Linked DNA regions of Homo sapiens: region 1 is linked to region 2. The links are contacts of gene promoters, found by promoter capture Hi-C in blood cells and fetal thymus (Javierre and others, 2016). All regions are on one chromosome and are shown on one strand. Each heading gives the region's core, a stretch centred on a gene start or on the middle of the fragment in contact. The rest is flanking DNA. Distances are from core to core; before and after follow the strand shown.

The links. The method cuts DNA at HindIII sites, captures the fragments that hold promoters and counts their contacts. A CHiCAGO score of 5 or more calls a contact.
Region 1: a contact is called between a fragment that was not itself captured here and the fragment with the promoter of RAPSN in region 2, in 1 of 17 cell types (naive B cells). The highest score is 5.1, in naive B cells.

The regions. Positions count from the first base shown.
Region 1 is chr11:46,853,572-46,858,682 of GRCh38, forward strand. LRP4 (LDL receptor related protein 4) reads right to left here. Exons shown (of 38, transcript NM_002334.4): 38 at 3,146-5,111. The region is part of intron 2 of LRP4-AS1 (LRP4 antisense RNA 1); the gene reads left to right. Among named protein-coding and RNA genes, the nearest start is that of LRP4-AS1, 9.7 kb to the left of the region's middle. The HindIII fragment of the contact is 2,101 bases long and covers 2,337-4,437 here.
Region 2 is chr11:47,447,886-47,452,631 of GRCh38, forward strand. RAPSN (receptor associated protein of the synapse) reads right to left here and starts at 1,251. Exons shown (of 8, transcript NM_005055.5): 1 at 888-1,251; 2 at 1-265. The coding sequence starts at 1,079. The HindIII fragment of the contact is 3,655 bases long and covers 399-4,053 here.

The DNA.
Region 1 (5,111 bases), core at 2,137-4,636, 590 kb before region 2:
ATCTTATACAGTACCTTGCCCGTAGTAGGTATTCAATAAATGTTTGCCCAGTCATCTTTTGCCTTCTAGGATTATCATCAAATAGCATTTATCTGTGTATTTATTGGAGTTACGTGTGCTTTTATTCCAGGGTCTTCTCAGTAGTCCTTTTACATAAGGAGTATATTTATGAACATACTGCCCTCTGAGGGCAGTGAAGCCCTTGTGGGCATTAGAGATCAAAGTGAATGCTGTATTTTTGCAACTGAAAACAGGAAACAAATGTCAAATACTGTGGCTGCTGAATAACTGTGCTGGGCATTTCTGAAAAGCCTGTTAGGGTTGAGACAGTGCTCATTCTTTTGTAATCACAAGCTGAATTCTGGTTGAAGCATCCCTACCATGGGATATGTATCCATATTTCCAGCCTAAAAGGAGCAGCTTCAGTGATGAGCTTCCTTCAACTTTCAATGCAGGTGCCCTCTGCATTATTTCCCTGGAGATAGCAGTGGTGACATTAATACAGATTTCAAGTGGCTGTGGGTTTTAGTGCCTTAACTGTCTTCCAGGATTGCAAAGCCTACCCTGGCTTGCACTTGATTGCATTTAGTAGGTGCTGGTTGAATGAAGGAATGAATAGCCTTTATTTTTTCTTTTCTCATATTCATTTTCCATAGCCCCCAAAATGTAGGCTGTCCAAGAACTTTGACCACAGAAGCATCAGCGCCACCAAAGAGGAAGGAGGGAGAAGGGAGAGATAGGGACCTCATTAGAAGACTATCAACAGGCTTTTAGGGCCTGGAGGGAAAACCATCAGGAAGAGCAAGATACGTGAAAGTTCTTGGCTCTTTGTGTCTTATAAAATGAAATAAGCAGATTGTGTAGCTTGTGGCTAACTTAGCCTTGGGTTTAAACTATGACCCTTAATTAGGCTGTCTGGGTCTGTTTTAACACCATGTCAAGGAGACCAAAGTTATGAGTTGGAGCTTTGACTAGACATCAAACTTTATTCCCTATGCTGAGCTCTGCTAGCCTCTGCAGCTGGTTAACGGGAGAATGGTGTGGAGAGAAAATAAGTAGGCAGATGAGGGAATGTTTCAAAACAAAGAGTGCCTAAAAACATCCCAAAACACACATCCTATTAAGTGAATCAGTCGACTCAACTTCACATTTGAAGAAAAGATATATTACAGACTGTTTCGTAGCCATAAAAAGGACTCAGCCACATTTCTTTTATCATTATGTCCATAAATAGAAACCAGACAACTTAGGGCCAGGTGCGGTGGCTCACGCCTGTAATCCCAGCACTTTGGGAGGCTGAGGCGGGCGGATCACAAGGTCAGGAGATTGAGACCACGGTGAAACCCCGTCTCTCCTAAAAATACAAAAAATTAGCTGGGCGTGGCAGTGGGCGCCTGTAGTCCCAGCTACTTGGGAGGCTGAGGCAGAAGATTGTGCCACTGCACTCCAGCCTGGGCGACAGAGCGAGACCCTGGATAACCTTGGATATCAGTGCATTACTGGGTCCTCTTAGAACCCTCTTAGAACCCACTTAGAAACCTGTGCACCCTCAGCTTTTGTAGATGCTGCCTCTGAGTTCCTATGCATTGAATTTAGGCCTACGTTTGGTGACAGCTTCAGTTTATCCAGAGTCCTTTCTATGGGCCAGAGATCCTTTCATTTTAGATTCCACAGTTTGTTCATACACCATAGACAGACCGTGACTGTATTTTGAGTGAGTTTGCAAAAATATGGCCAGTTTGTTAGAACTTGACCCACCATCTGCTCACTTATCAGTTTCAGGGTTTTTTTGTTTTGTTTTTTTAGTGACAAGGTTTTGCTCTGTTACCCAGGATGGAATGCAGTGGCGTGATCATAGCTCACTGTAACCTTGAACTCCTGGGCTCAAGCAATCCTCCTGCCTCAGCCTCCCAAGCAGCTGGGACTACAGGCATGAGCTACCACACCTGACTAATATTTTTAAATTTTTTTGTAGAGATATGGTCCTGTCATGTTGCCCAGGCTGATCGTGAACTCCAGGCCTCAAGCAATACTCCTTACTTCTGTCTTGGCCTCCCAAAGTGGTGAGATTACTTTGGTGTAGCCACTGTGCCTGACCCTAGTTTCAGATTTTATACCAGAGAACTAGACAAGGAATTCCCAACCTTTGTTTTATCCCAAGATGTCCTCCTTTTCTGCTTTTTTTTTCCCTCCCAAAGAGAACAGTGGGGGTTGGAGGGATGGTTATCCTTGGGCTATTCTACTTGTTTTTGTTCTGGCACACCTACTCCTTACTACAGTTAGAAAAATTATACACTGTAGCTTATACTCAGATCTCTGGTCACTTAAATACAAGAAGCTTCAGTCTTTCTTACTTTCATTTTTTGTCTTTTTTTGGGATGGTGGTGGTAATGGTGTTGCTAGACTCTAAGCTCTGTAAGATTATGTCTTTGTTTAGGCATGGGCAGTGCCTAGCCCATAGCAGATGAATGAATGAATGAATGAATGAATGAATGGGGATATTATCCTATAGATGGTGTGTGGTTTAGAAAATCAACTATTGAGACTTGACATGAAATTCTACATCGGGCGTTGAGATTAACATGATTCCCAGTTTTCACTGAGGGATATCACATCCAGAGAACCTGAGAAGGGATCCCTAGCTCCTTGTTCTAGCCTTGAGAAGTAGTGGATGAGCTATGAAAAGACAGCTTTTAAAAATAAATGAAATCCTAGTGATAATTTGATCCACTCTCAGACTAACTATGAAAGTTGACTAAGATCAAACAGAGCTAGTGGCAGATCTGGGACTGGAATTAGCCCTCCATGTCCCCAGCTCCAGTACTTTTCTTACTACATGAGATAGTCTTGCCAGTGACCATCACTGCAAGGCAAAGTAAAGTTCTGTAACAAAGACCTAGAACAGAAATAGAAGATACATGGTATACATGCCATGACATTTCCTTCCAGTGCACAGAAGAGATGTCACTAGCCATATGACATTCTTCCCATTGGGTGCGAATAGGCCCTCAGGCAGCCACTACCAACCAGTCAGAGTCAGCACTCAAGAGGAAACCCATCTACCATTCCTCTTCCAGAGGAAATAAAGGTTTCATCAGTCAAGGAACTCTGGCCTCGACCTGTCTTCTCCAGATGAGCTGAAAACTCCAGCAGGAACCTCACACTCTTTATTGCTCTTCACTGTGCCCACATCCACAAAGGACTTAAAAGTGATGTCTGTAAGCAGGTTTTCCACAGCATGGGTCTGCCAGACAGAGCAGGTGCAGGATTAGTCATGACTCCAAGCCAGGCAAGGTGATTAAGAAAAGCTAAATTTATATTAAATTATCATAAAGTCCTAAAATACTGAACATAGTGGTTAAATAACTCCAGAAAGTCCAATCTCTCCAGTGAGTAACGTTAAAACCATTACACATGAGCATGGGAGAATCGCTTCCATTAGTTTAGGACAGAGAGATTTTGCTTTTTACAGAGTAAATCAGTGCTCAAATAGATACTTCCTCAAATATGTCCTTTCTACATTCTGAACAGCCCAAGTGCAATAAGATCCTTCCCCCTTTCCAATCAAGAAAATGCCACTTTTCTACTTGCTCTTCCTCCCCAGACGTGAGTCTAAGGACCCAAAGTGCTCACTCCTTTACTGCTTGTTAAGTGTAATGTGGGGAGGCTCAGAACTGGGGCTGACGCTACTGAGAGCAAGGCTAAGGGCCTGGTATCTCTCTCTAGCAGTCTTAGAACTGACTAGAAAAGAATTGATCTTGTCCTTTTTCACTTTGGTAGCTGATTTCTCAATACCAGTAACCACAGGAGAAGTTTCAACTCAGGAAACTTCCCCTAGAAATTCTCCCCTCCATTCCCAGCCCCTGTTGTTCTCTCCTGCCACTTCTAATTCCTGGGGGAGAAGAGGTCTGGGTCTGCCATGGGCTAGGAGGGCCTCATCAGTGGTGCTCTCTACCTTCCTACTCCTTACCCACCTCTTTGTATTTTTATTTATTCAGCCCTCCCACCACAGGACTTTGGAGATTGCTGGTGCCACAAGGCTTGGTCAGAAAAAGCAAATTAGGCAAAAAAACAAACAAAAAAACCCCACGAAGAACAGCTAGGGAGACGTTTTAGGGCAAAAATAAGTCTCAATTTCCCTGATACCAGGCTGAGACACGTGCCCTTTGTGTGAATGAGCATGAACCAAGTGATGGCATCCCACATGGAAACTAAGCCCCTTAGCTGAGGGGACAGCTGGAAGAGGAACATCACCACCCCGTAGCCACAGGCTTGCTGTCCACTAACTTAGATCCCTGAGCACTTGAGAAAGAACATAGGAAGTTCAACAGGAAGTTTGACCCTCATGGATACTTCTCTTTAGGCCCTGGGTTTCCCAAGTCTCCAACCTGATCGTTCTTTCTGACCATTTATGACAACTTCTGGTTTTTCTTTGAAAGCTTGTTTCTAGGTCTCTTCCCCAGAATCCCAGGACATGAGGGAGAGAGGGGTCAGGAGGTATACCATATTTGGTCTAGGCAGAGCTTCTTAGACTTTTCAGAGACTCAGCCCCCAAGGCCTAACATTCACTCAAGCCACTGGCTCACAACCTGGTTAATTTGAGCAAAGACTTAGGAAAGGTACTGGCCAGTGGTGGCACCAGGAGGGAATTCCTATTAGCCAGTAGCCTTGTGATAGGGGACCCAGTTATCTGAATGTAGAAACAGCTCCAGACATTCTAGGAGGAGGAAGAACAGCCTGAGCCACCCCCATCTCACCAGTATCTGCTGCTGAAAAGGCAGTGTCTCTTAGGGCAAGAATAATGTCCACTGCCAGCAATGGACCAGACACCCAGATCCAACTACCCCCCAAAGCTTTTTCATGTTACTAACACACTTGAGGCTGGAGGTTTCCCAGATGCCCATACCTGCTGGGCTGATTCTTCCTTCTTCTCTCAGCCTCTATCCTTCATCCCTGTCTTTACCCACACCCCCATGTCCCAGCCCCTGATGGGCAAGTTCTCTCAGAGAAGCAGTCATGCTGGCTGTGATGGGGCAGAGCGCAGTCCTGGGTCATCAGCTGCATCAGCACTGAGAAGCAGGCACTGAGGGTACTGGGGAAAGGGGAGGTGG
Region 2 (4,746 bases), core at 1-2,500:
CATAGCGCAGGGCCTTCTCGAAGCTCTCCAGGGCCTTCTGGAAGACGCTGAGGCCCAGGAAGGCATTGCCCATGCTCAGGCTGACCTGGCCTCCGAGCTGGGCACCTGCCCTGGTACCAGGCAGCCCAAGGCAGGTCTTGCAGTAGGAGATGGTCTTGTGAAACTCGCACAGCTTCTCGTTGCTGCGTGCCAGGTTCAGGTAGCTCTCCAGGAGGAAGTCGGCATCCTCCAGCTCCCGGGCCGTGTCGATCTGGACCACAGCGAACTGCACACAGCGACGGTGGGCAGGTGGTGCTCAGCCTGGACTCTGAGCCTTGGACCCCAGCCTGCACTGCAGGCTCAGACCTGGAGGCCCCACACCCACCCCCCAGCCTCACACCCAAAGCAGCAGATCCCAAAGCTTCTTTTCAGACCCAGAGCTTCTACCCGCCAGCCTCAGCTACCTTCCCTACACCCCAGCCTCACCTCCCAAGCTCAGGCTTGCAGCCTTCACCTTCTATCCCAAGCCTCAGATCTGGAGTCTCCACCACCCACCCACCCCCAGCCGCAACCCTGGAGCCCACACCCCGCCAGGCTCAGACACAGAACACCAGACAGGAAGGCTGAAACCTACAATGGGCTTGAGACCCACAAACCCTCGACCCTGAGGCTGGAGAACCTCAGTCTCAGAGACTCGGGCACCACAGTTCAAGGCCACAGGCCTGAATCTGATGCCAAGACTCAGTATCTAAGACCCAGGGCCTTAGATATAAATTCAGAGCCTCGGGCCCTGGCTGCCAGCCTGTGGGACACAGGGGAGCCCGAGGAGGCCGAGAGGGGACTGGGGAGCCTGGGAGACATCCGGCCCCAGCCTGACCCTCGAACGCCCCCAGGCCGGGTACACCCACCTTCAGCATCTCCTTGTAGCGGCCCATCTCCGAGTGGGCTGTGACCAGGCAGCCCAGCACGCGGAAGCGCCCCATGAGGTCCGAGCTCTTCTCCAGCACCTTTGTCCACACCTGCAATGCCTTCTCTGTCTGGTTGGACTGGTACAGCTGGAGCCCCTTCTCGATCTGCTGCTTGGTCTGGTCCTGCCCCATCCTCCCCAAGCCCTGTGTCCCACGTGGGGTGATCCCTGGTGGCTCCGTGCCTCTAGGCACTCATGGGGCAGGAATCACAGTGCCAGCTGCCCCCCGAAACGTGGGAACAAAAGCAGCGTCGGGTGGGAGCCGGAATGGGGCCTGGATGGAGAGCAGGCGCCACCCTGGGAACAAAGCTGGTTCAGCCCGTCTGCAGCTGTCGCTGCCAGTTGGGGCCACATGGCCTCTGAGGAATGTCAGCAGCAAGGTCACGTGGGCCTCTGCTGCACCCACCCGCGAGCTGGGACGTGGCTTCCCTGAGCATACAGGCACCTTGCCACCTGGGCACCCCCTTGGGCGTCCCTTAGGCACCTCTGACACTGACCCTGACCGCCCTGGCAGCACGGGCCCTCCCAGCAGCCTTGCCAAGGGGCCAGCTCCAGCAAGTGGGCAGGCCTTGGGCTAGAGGTGCTCGGGGGAAGGAGAGCGAGGCTGGACCTGCAGGTCCGGGGAAGCCAGGTGAGCGCCCAGCCCTGCTTCTTCCCCATCAAGACACCCCTGACCGCAGCATCCCCTGGCTCTGTTCCTGAAATTCACTGAGCACCGTGGGTCACTCATCCAGGCCCAGGCTGACACCATTCACCAACTCTCACCTTAGAGAGTCTGGGAAAGACCTCCAGCTGGTGAGAGGCCTGAGCTCTAGCCTGGCTTCCTTCGAACTCTCAGTGGGACCCTAGCCAAGTGACCTGGCACCGTGGACTGAAGAGAGGAATGGTACCTGGCTCACTGGACTGCTATGAGAACTCAATGACGAAAGAGTTGAGAAGGACTTAGGACAGTGCCCGGCACAGGAAACCCCGCATGTGCTGCAAGAGGCTATTTTGCTCCATGGCAAATCCCCACCCGGGCCAGAACCCAGCCCTTGAAGTTTCAATGTCTCACTTCCAATCCCAACCCCGGGCTGAAAGGGTCCTCATAATGAGATTTAACACCAGATACTGTGGAGAAGGGCAAGGTCTTATGTAGTATTGGGGCCCCCGCTAGCAGGCCAGCTCATCCAGCCCCCCTTTCTCCTCTCTCTGCATGCCAGCCTTCTTCCTGCCCCAGGGCAAAAGTTTATCCTTTCTGGCTGGGCAATTCAGTGGTTTTTAGTATATTCACAGAGATGCACATTAATTGCCACTAATTCCAGAACATTTTAACCACCCCAAAAAGGAGACGCACACCCATCAGCAGTTACACCACTCCATTCCCCACCTTGATATGACTGAATCATGTCCCCCCGCAACCAAACGCATATGTTTAAGTCCTAACACTCAGTATCTCATAAGGTGACTGTCTTTGGAGACAGGGTCTTTAAAGGGTGATTAAGGTAAAATGAAGTCACATTGTACCTCATCCAGTTAAGACTGGTATCCCCCCCCCCTTTTTTTTGAGACAGGGTCTCACTCTGTCACCTAGGCTGGAGTGCAGTGGTGCAGTCACAGCTCACTGCAACCTCTACCTCCTAGGCTCAAGTGACCCTCCCACCTCAGTCTCCTGGGTAGCTGAGACCACAGCTGTCTAGTTTTTGTAGAGATGGGTTTCACCATGTTGCCCAGGCTGGTCTTGAACTCCTGGAGGTGGAGGTTTCAGTGAGCCGTGATTGTGCCACTGCACTCCAGCCTGAGCACCAGAGCAAGACCTTGTCTCAAAAAATAAATAAACAATAAATTTTTATTTTTAAAAATTATTTTTGAGACGGAGTTTTGCTCTTGTTGCATAGGCTGGAGTGCAGTGGCACAATCTCAGCTCACTGAGACTTCTACCTCCCGGGTTCAAGCAATTCTCCTGCCTCAGCCTCCCAAGTAGCTGGGATGACAGGTGTATGCCACCACGCCTGGCTAAGTTTTTGTATTTAGTAGAGACGGGGTTTCACCATGTTGGTCAGGCTGGTCTTGAACTTCTGACCTCAGTTGATCCACCTGCCTCAGAGCCTCCCGAAGTATTGGGGTTATAGGCGTGAGCCACCATGCCTGACCACAATACTTTTTTTTTTTTTTGAGACACTTTCCCTCTGTCACCCAGGCTGGAGTGTGGTGGTGCCATCTTGGCTCACTGCAACCTTCACCTCCCAGGTTCAAGTGATTCTCCTGCCTCAGCCTCCTGAGTAGCTGGGATTACAGCTGCGCACCACCACACCTGGCTAATTTTTGTATTTTTAGTAGAGACGGGGTTTCACCATGTTGGTCAGGCTGGTCTGGAACTCCTGACTTCATGATCTGCCCACCTCTGCCTCCCAAAGTGTTGGGATTACAGGCGTGAGCCCCCGCACCTGGCCCACAATAAATGTTTAAAAAGGACACAGTCACACAGAAGAAGAGCACGTGAAGACACAGGGAGAAGATGGCTATCTACAAGCCCAGGAGCAAGGCCTTAGAATGAAACCAACTCTGCCAATTCCTTGATCTTGGACTTCTAGCGTCCAGAACTGTGAGAAAATAAATTTCTGTTATTTAAGCCACCTGGTGTCTATGGACCTGTCTATTGTGGACCCTTCACAGGAATGGAATCATACAATATGTGGTCATCTGTGACTGGCTTCTTTAACTTGGCATAATGTTTTCAAGATTCAACTATGTTTTCAACCGTATCAGAACTTCATTACTTATTGTGGTTGGTTAATACTCATTGTCTGGATATACATTTTGTTGATTCAGCAGTTAATAGGCATTTGGGTTGTTTCATTTTTGGCTACTATGAATAATGATGCTATAAAAATTCATGTACAAATTGGGCTGGGCACGGTGGCTCACGCCTGTAATCCCAGCACACTAGGAGGCTGAAGCAGGCAGATCACTTGAGCCCAGGAGTTGGAGACCAGCTTGGGAAACATAGCGAGACCCCATATCTACAAAAAATACAAAAAAAAAAAAAAATTAGCTGGGTGTGGTGGTGCACAGCTGTGGTCCCAGCTACTCGCGAGGCTGAGGCAGGAGAATCGCTTGAGCCTACAAGCTTGGACTGCAGTGAGCCGCAATCATGTCACTACACTCCAGCCTGGGTGACAGAGCGAGACCCTGTTTCAAAAAAATAAAAAATTCATGTACTAGGTTTTATGGGGACATGTTTTCATTTCTCTTAGGTATATGCTTGGAGCAGAAGTGTGAGTAATATGGCAACTGTTACATTCTGGTACCTGCCTACCTGTCTGCCCCAGGGCCTTTGCACCTCCTAATTCCTTCTCTGTTCACCACACCCACACTCTGCCTCGTAAGTCATAATTAGGATGAATCAGCATATTATCCTCTCATTGAATTACACTGCATTCTGATACAGGACTTATCTCTATAATTTTATTTTGAGACAGGGTCTCACTTTGTCGCCCAGGCTGGAGTGCAGTGGTACAATCTAGGCTCACTGAGGCCTCGACCTCCTGGGCTCAAGCCACCCTCCCACCTCAACCCTCGCAAGTAGCTGGCATTACAGGCAATGCCACCATGCCCAGCTAATTTTTATATTTTTAGTAGAGACGGGGTTTCACCATGTTGGCCAGGCTGGTTTTGAACTCCTGTGCTCAAGTGATCCGCTGGCCTGGGCATCCCAAAGTGCTGGGATTACAGGCGTGAGCCACCACGCCCAGCCTCTCTATAATTTTATATTAGTGAGGTTGTTTGCTGAATGTCTTTATTCTTCACTCAAATGAGGT